Linked DNA regions of Homo sapiens: all the other regions are linked to region 2. The links are contacts of gene promoters, found by promoter capture Hi-C in human tissues and cell types (Jung and others, 2019). All regions are on one chromosome and are shown on one strand. Each heading gives the region's core, a stretch centred on a gene start or on the middle of the fragment in contact. The rest is flanking DNA. Distances are from core to core; before and after follow the strand shown.

Region 1 (2,700 bases), core at 138-2,637, 340 kb before region 2:
GGGGCTCACTCTTGGTGGTAGTGGGGTATCAGTTGTATGGAATTTAAAGCTAATTTGTGAATTGGGGAAAATCTTAGATTTTGTAGCCAATTAGACCTCCTAGAGTTTCAGATGGGTAAAAGCTACTCTCTGAAAAGTAGATGACAACATACACATTCAAAACAAGCACTTAATGGAACATCATGCAGCTTTAGATATTTTGCTCAAGCTGAAGGCATACGTTTGGTGTTAAACAGAACTGAATGTTGTACTTATCTCACCCCTGATTTCGTTACTACAGAAAGCTTAATTTAAAAGGTGGGTGATACTGCTGTTTCCTTAGACACTACTACCAAATACCTTAAAGAAATCTCTCAAGAGAAAGGAACCCATGATGTGTTTACAGGAGCAACTGACAGTTGGTTTGCACATAATCCTAAGTGGTGGATGATACGCTTGGGTTTTCCAAGGGTTTCTAATCTTTATATTTCTTCCAATAAGTTTCCAAGTTATTATGATTTGTATTACACCAGGGTAACAAGGAAAATGAGTACCTCTTTAAATTAGGCTACTTTCCAGCGAACTATGGTCCTTAGTCGCTCTCACACTCCAAATGAGGACTAGGACCAATTAGACCCTAATATTGTTGAACTGCCTATATTGTATAAACCTTAACTTGGTTAATTTGGTTCAGTTCATATTAGTCCATTTTCACACTGCTGATAAAGACATACCCAAGACTGGGCAATTTACAGAAGAAAGAGGTTTAATTGGACTTACAGTTCTACATGGCTGGGGAAGCCTCACAATCATGGCAGAAGGCAAGAAGGAGCAAGTCACATATTATGTGGATGGCAGCAGGCAAAGAGAGAGCTTGTGCAGGGGAACTCCTCTTTCCAAAACCACCAGATCTTGTGAGACTTATTCACTATCATGAGAACAACATGGGAAAGACTTTCCCCCATGATTCAATTACCTCCCACTGGGTCCCTCCCACAATATGTGGGATTTCAAGATGAGATTTAGGTGGGGACACAGCCAAACCATATCAGAACTCTTATTAAGGAGCATGTCTTAGGCATTTTGATATTATTCTCTTGATAGTCACAGTAATAGCCCCCCTGGTGTACTGTATCCTCTTAAGTCTTAAATGTTTTGTATATAGCCATCCATTGAGAGTTAATAGTCTCACTCCAAATGGGTCAGCAAGAACATAAAGATTCATTCAGCTGGAAAAAAGATGTGACTTGTGAATTTCATATTGACACCCAAGAAGACATGTGAAGCTCCTTACTAAAACTAAAGAGGACTTGTAAACACACAGACCAAATAAGTCTTTTCGATTGTGAGAGAGACTGGTGTCAATGCCTAAAGTTTTGGTCAATCTCTCTAAATTGAGAGGTTAACCAAAAGGGGGGAAATGTTAATGCAAATTAAATATGGCCTGAGAAGGATTTCATGCTTCTATATTAGAGTCCTTGGGGATGAACCATAACCTAACTTAATAGGTAAACAAGATTGAAAACCTAACTTAGGAGTATATGCCTGTAACATTTGGCCTATCCTAGCAGTTATACTTCAACCACTCATACACTGCTGAGTGTTCAAACTGTGTTCAAGTAAGGCAAATGCCAACTTGTAACCAGTCCAGCTGTTTCTGTACCTCACTTCTGATTTCTGCATGTCCTTTTTTTGTCTGTAAGTTTGTTCTGACCATGAGGAATCCCTGGAATCTCTCTGAATCTGCTGTGATTTTGGGGGCTGCTTGATTCATAAATCTTTTTTTTTCTTGCTCAATTAAACTTCGTTAAATTTACTTTGTCTGACGTTTTCTTTTAACAGTGCTTAGTAGTAAAGAACATTTTGCTAAATTGTCATGAGTCCTTGCTCAAGGTGTTCAGCTTTTTCTTCTAATCTGGTTTTCAGCCCTAGATCATGTGTTTCTTCATTATTATGCACAGGATCTAGTCAAGAGATATGTTTTGTATGTTCATATGGAATGTCCATAGAAGGGTGCCATCAGACATCACATCAAACTCGACTTTGCAATTATAGTCATCTGGTGGAGAAGACTACTTACATTTATGACAGATACACTATGTCTGTCATAGTGTATCTTTGGATTTGGACAGTTCCAGTCCAAACATTTGGATTGGAAATGTTTCAAAATAATTCTCTGTGATATCACCTATTTTACTGCTGCTACTGCTATGATGTATTGAGATACTTATAAAGTGGTATAAAAATATGTTTTGAAGGAAACTGCTTTTAAACTGCCTCTAAGACATACCAATTTTCATCCCTTGACGATTCCTCACTGTAAGGTTCTTGTATCGGTTTGAACCCTGAGAGTGTGCCAACAGACAACACGAATAGGTGTGGAGAAACATGCTGTTTTAATGAGCGCCTGGGTGTAGGTGGGCTGAGGCCTAATAGGCCTCTGCCCCAAATGAGGATGGGGCAAAAGTTTTATAGTCTCCTATAAACAGGAAGCATCCTAGTCTGACGTAACTGCTACATTGTACCCGGATGGCCTCTTTCTCGATCTTCAGGGGTATCTTCCGGCCAGAGGAGGTATCTTCCGGCCAGCTCTCTTCCTGCTTCTGCTATCTTGCTGACACACACTGCTGACACCAAGTGGCCTTGCGCCTTGGGACTGGGCCTGAGAAGGGAGGAGTTAATTCATCTCCTTAAGCTTTCAGGCCCCCAGGGAGAATCTTA
Region 2 (2,700 bases), core at 4-2,503:
ACTGCATCACAGAAAACCTTTCATGGTCCTACCCAGAACATCCCACCCTCACAGCATTCCTTGATTGGATCACCAATCTTATATTTCAAGGGGATTTACAGGAATTCACTCCAGATGAAGCCGAATTCTTTACCTTTACACTTGCTCTCTGTCTATTTACTCCTTCTTCCCTCCTCCTTCTCGCTACCGCTCCACCTACAGCGCACCATTCCACAGGCACATATGATACTCAGTCAAACTAACCCCTCCCTGGCCAAGGCCTGCTGGTACACCCCTCAGAAACCGTATCAAAAGATGTCTTCCCAGCTCCCCTCAAAGACTGGGTTCTCAGCAATATGACCCTCCACCCCCGCTACCAAAGTTTTGGAGAAGTAAATGCACTCAAAAGTTACAAACTCAATCTTACCACACATACTGCAGAACACAAGGTTATCTTAGGAACACTTACCCCAGACTCAGAACTCAGTCAACCAGCATCCCTATGCATAAAGCGTGAACTTTCCAAAGGAGTGCCCCTAGGCACCCTCTCCTCTAGCTTATGCAACTGTACCCTAACACTCACTCCCCCGACAGGCATCCAAACAATAACAGAAAAAAACCCCACACAAACTCTCAAAATCTCCAACCCCCGTCAGACCCAAGTCACGGGAGAAACATCAGGATTCTGCAATAACTGACACAGGCCCTGCATAGAAATCGCAGGGTGGAACACTTGCCTAAACCCCGTCCCCACTTCCCAATGCATGGAAATCCCACTGCCTAACACACCCTCAAACAAACTACTTATTGACACAAAACGCTTCTTATGGACTCAGCCTGGGTGACAGAGGAAGATTCTGTATCAAAAAATATATATATATACACACACACATATATATGTATATATATGTGTGTGTGTATATATATAATTTGTTTTTTCCATGATAAGCTATTTTAAAACAAAGATTCTGAATTCTGTATGTTTTCTATGGATAATTTTGTTAGAGTTAAAGAATTTGTTCCCGAGTTATTACTCAATACATGCTGTTTATTGGAATACAGATAACAGCATGATCATTGACAAACTTTGCCCTAGTTTCCTATTACTCATTAAACCTTGAAGTTGCACTTAACATGACTGTATCTGGATAACAGATAAAATTTTGGCCTTATTATGCCAACCCTTAAACTAAGTGAGCAACTCTGTTTTCAAAGCTTTTGGGTGGAGCTGAAGCACACTGCTTATTAAAGTACACTATTCAGGCATATCATGTAGGTTTACTTTCTGTGTTTCTAGAGACCAAGAAGCGGGACGTTCACCATGGGAAGAAAATCGCTGTACCTTCTGATTGTGGGGATCCTCATAGCATATTATATTTATACGCCTCTCCCAGATAACGTTGAGGAGCCATGGAGAATGATGTGGATAAACGCACATCTGAAAACTATACAAAATTTGGTAAGTTTGGAATTTTATGAATTCAGATGTGCATACACCACCATTTGACCCAGAGAATTAAGTTTTTCAAGATTCTATTCTTTTGATTTATTGACTTATTCATCTTTTAAAATAACTGCTGTGGCCTTTGACAATGTGTTACTTAGAAATGTTGTTTGTTTTCTGTCTTATGTATTGGAATCATGTTAAAAAAATATCAAGAACAGCAAGCAAGGAGTCATTTGAATAGGTTTTGCTAAAAAGTACTTTGTTTAGGTAGCTTTAATATCACGATAGTGGCTCTCCTTTGAAATTCTTATCTTAGGTATGGTTTGTTCCTTAAATTTTATACTCAAATTAGAGATCATCTGATTATGCAGCACTGTGTTAGTTACAGATTTTTATGCACTTATCTTTGGGATTCAGAATATAGACTAAGGACACGTAAATAAGTTCTCAAGAAAAGATTCAATGGGCAGGCTGGTTGGCACATGCCTAGGGTTAACCACGAGACGGCACAATATGCACAAATGAGAGGGGGAGGGAGACCTGGGTGTCCTGGCAACTGGGCAGCTTGGATGCTGGCAAATTAAAAAGGTGTAGCTCTCTCTGGATCCTTGATGATATTTTACTATTACTTCTTTGGTTATTTTATTATCTTCATTAAAACAAATCTCTTTTCAGAACTTAAACCAGATAAATGTTGTAACTCCTGGATTAATCTTTTATTTTGCATTTATTCAACAATTCAACTGTCTCAAATCCTATTAGGCAAACAAGTAGTCTATCCCCACACAGTTGACATTCTAGTGGTGGAGAAAAAAATAAATTAGAATTAAATGAATAAATGATTTTAGTTCATGAGAAGTACCTTTAAGGAGGTAAGATGGAAGAAAAGAGAGTAATTTGGGCAGAAGGCAAGAGTGGGCTACTGTATGCATGGTGAGAAAAAGCCATTCTGAAGAGGAAACAGCTACTTAGGGACCAGAAGAATGAAAAGAAACCAACCATTCTAAGTGCTAAGAAAAATGTTTTCCAGCAGAGACACCAACAAGTAAAAACACCCCAGCTACAGAATATTGACAAGTCCAAGAAATCATATGAAACATTTGGGTTTAATGGGGAAATTGTTGCAATTAGTTTGGAGAGGTTAGAAGCCATATCATACAGTGCTTTGTGGGCACTGGTAGTAAGTTTTGATTTAATTCTGTATGTGATGCAGAGCTATTAAAGAGCTTTAAGAAAGGGACACATTTTTTTCCCTCATATTTGCTGTCTGTGCT
Region 3 (2,700 bases), core at 38-2,537, 280 kb before region 2:
CAAGCAAATGGGAAGCAAAAAAAGGCAGGGGTTGCAATCCTAGTATCTGATAAAACAGACTTTAAAACAATAAAAATTGAAAGAGACAAAGAAGGGCATTACATAATGGTAAAGGGATCAATCCAGCAAGAAGAACTAACTATCCTAAATATATATGCATCAAATACAGGAGCACCCAGATTCATAAAGCAAGTTCTGAGAGACCTAAAAAGAGACTTAGACTCCCACACAATAACAGTGGGAGACTTTAACACCCCACTGTCAATATTAGATCAATGAGACAGAAAGTTAACAAGGATATCCAGGACTTGAACTCACCTCTGGACCAAGCAGACCTAATAGACATCTACAGAACTCTCCACCCAAAATGAACAGAACATACATTCTTCTCAGCACCACATCACCCTTATTCTAAAACTGAACACATAATTGGAAGTAAAACACTCCTCAGCAAATGAAAAAAATGGAAATCATAACAAACAGTCTCTCAGACCACAGTGTGATCAAATTAGAACTCAGGATTAAGAAACTCACTCAAAATGGCACAACTACATGGGAACTGAACAACCTGTTCCTGAATGACTACTGGTAAATAATGAAATGAAGACAGAAATAAGTAAGTTTTTTGAAACCAATGAGAACAAAGACACAACATACCAGAAACTCTGGGACACATCTAAAGCAGCGTGTAGAGAGAAATTTATGGCACTAAATGTCCACAAGAGAAAGCAGGAAAGTTCTAAAATTGACACCCTAACATCACAATGAAAAGAACTAGACAAGCAAGACCAAACAAATTCAAAAGCTAGCAGAAGACAAGAAATAACTAAGATCAGAGCAGAACTGAAGGAGATAGAGACCTGAAAAACCCTTCAAAATATCAATGAACCCAGGAGCTGGTTTTTTTTAAAAGATCAACAAAATAGACCGCTAGCAAGACTAATGAAGACAAGAGAGAAGAATCAAATAAATGCAATAAAAAATGATAAAGGGGATATCACCACTGATCCCACAGAAATACAAACTACCATCAAAGAATACTATAAACACCTCTATGCAAAGAAACCAGAAAATCTAGAAGAAAAGAACAAATTCCTGGACACATACACCCTCCCAAGACTAAACCAGGAAGAAGTCAAATCCTGGAACAGACCAATAACAAGTTCTGAAATTGAGGCAGTAATTAATAGCCTACAAACACCACAAAAAAGTCCAAGGCCAGACGGATTCACAGCCGAATTCTACCAGAGTAACCAAGAGGAGCTGGTACCATTCCTTCTGAAATTGTTCCTAACCATAGAAAAGGAGGGAATCCTAATTCATTTTATGAGGCCAGCATCATCCTGATACCAAAACCTGGCAGACACACAACAAAAAAAGAAAATTTCAGGCCAGTATCCCTGATGAAGATTGATGTAAAAATCCTCAATAAAATACTGGCAAACCGAATCCAGCAGTACATCAAAAAGCTTATCCACCAAGATTAAGTCAGCTTCACCCCTGGGATGCAAGGCTAGTTCAACATACCCAAATTAATAAACATAATCCATCGCATAAGCAGAACCAATGATAAAAACCACATGATTATCTCAATAGATGCAGAAAAGGCCTTCGACAACACTCAACAGCGCTTCATGCTAAAAACTCTCAGTAAACTAGGCATTGATGGAATGTATCTCAAAATAAGAGCTATTTATGACAAACCAACAGCCAATATCATACTGAATGGGCAAAAACTGGAAGCATTCCCTTTGAAAACCGGCACAAGGCAAGGATGCCCTCTCTCACACTCCTATTCAACATAGTATTGAAAGTTCTGGTCAGGGCAATTGGCAAGAGGAAGAAATAAAGGGTATTCAATTAGGAAAAGAGGAAGTCAAATTGTCTCTATTTGCAGATGACATGATTGTATATTTAGAAAACCCCATCATCTCAGTCCAAAATCTCCTTAAGCTGATAAGAAAAGTCTCAGGATACAAAAATCAATGTGCAAAAATCATAAGCATTCCTATACACCAATAGCAGACAAACAGAGCCAAATCATAAATGAACTCCCATTCACAACTGCTACTAAGAGAATAAAATACCTAGGAATAAAACTTACAAGGGATGTGAAGGACCTCTTCAAGAACTGCCAACCACTGCTCAAGGAAATAAGAGAGAACACAAACAAATGGGAAAACATTCCATGCTCATGGATAGGAAGAATCAAAATCGTGAAAATGGCCATACAGGCCAAAGTAATTTATAGATTCAGTGCTATCCCCATCAAGCTACCACTGAGTTTCTTCACAGAATTGGAAAAAACTACTTTAAATTTCATATGGAACCAAAAAAAGAGCCCACATAGCCAAGACAATCTAAGCTAAAAGAAAGCTGGAGGCATCACTCTGACTTCAAACTATGCTACAAGGCTACAGTAACCAAAACAGCATGGTACTGGTACCAAAACAGATATATAGACCAATGGAACACAACAGAGGCCTCAGAAATAACGCCACACATCTACAACCATCTGATCTTTGACAAACCTGATAAAAACAAGCAATGGGGAAAGGATTCCCTATTTCATAAATGGTGTTGGGAAAACTGTCTAGCCATACGCAGAAAGCTGAAACTGGACCCCTTCCTTACACCTTATACAAAAATTAACTCAAGATAGATTAAAGACTTACACGTAAGACCTAAAACCAAAAAAGC

The links. Contacts are between HindIII fragments. The study calls those that stand out against the background at their distance.
Region 1: a fragment that was not itself captured here is called in contact with the fragment with the promoter of AADAC in region 2 in 1 of the 25 tissues and cell types used here (H1 embryonic stem cells).
Region 3: a fragment that was not itself captured here is called in contact with the fragment with the promoter of AADAC in region 2 in 1 of the 25 tissues and cell types used here (stomach).

What each region holds. Positions count from the first base shown.
Region 1 is chr3:151,473,980-151,476,679 of GRCh38, forward strand. It overlaps a transcript of IGSF10 not described here and the pseudogene MRPL42P6. Among named protein-coding and RNA genes, the nearest start is that of IGSF10, 14 kb to the left of the region's middle. The HindIII fragment of the contact is 3,256 bases long and covers 1-2,700 here.
Region 2 is chr3:151,812,863-151,815,562 of GRCh38, forward strand. AADAC (arylacetamide deacetylase) reads left to right here and starts at 1,254. Exons shown (of 5, transcript NM_001086.3): 1 at 1,254-1,438. The coding sequence starts at 1,301. All of the region lies in intron 1 of AADACL2-AS1 (AADACL2 antisense RNA 1), which reads right to left. The HindIII fragment of the contact is 13,838 bases long and covers 1-2,443 here.
Region 3 is chr3:151,531,000-151,533,699 of GRCh38, forward strand. It overlaps a transcript of IGSF10 not described here. Among named protein-coding and RNA genes, the nearest start is that of LINC02066, 20 kb to the right of the region's middle. The HindIII fragment of the contact is 4,462 bases long and covers 1-2,700 here.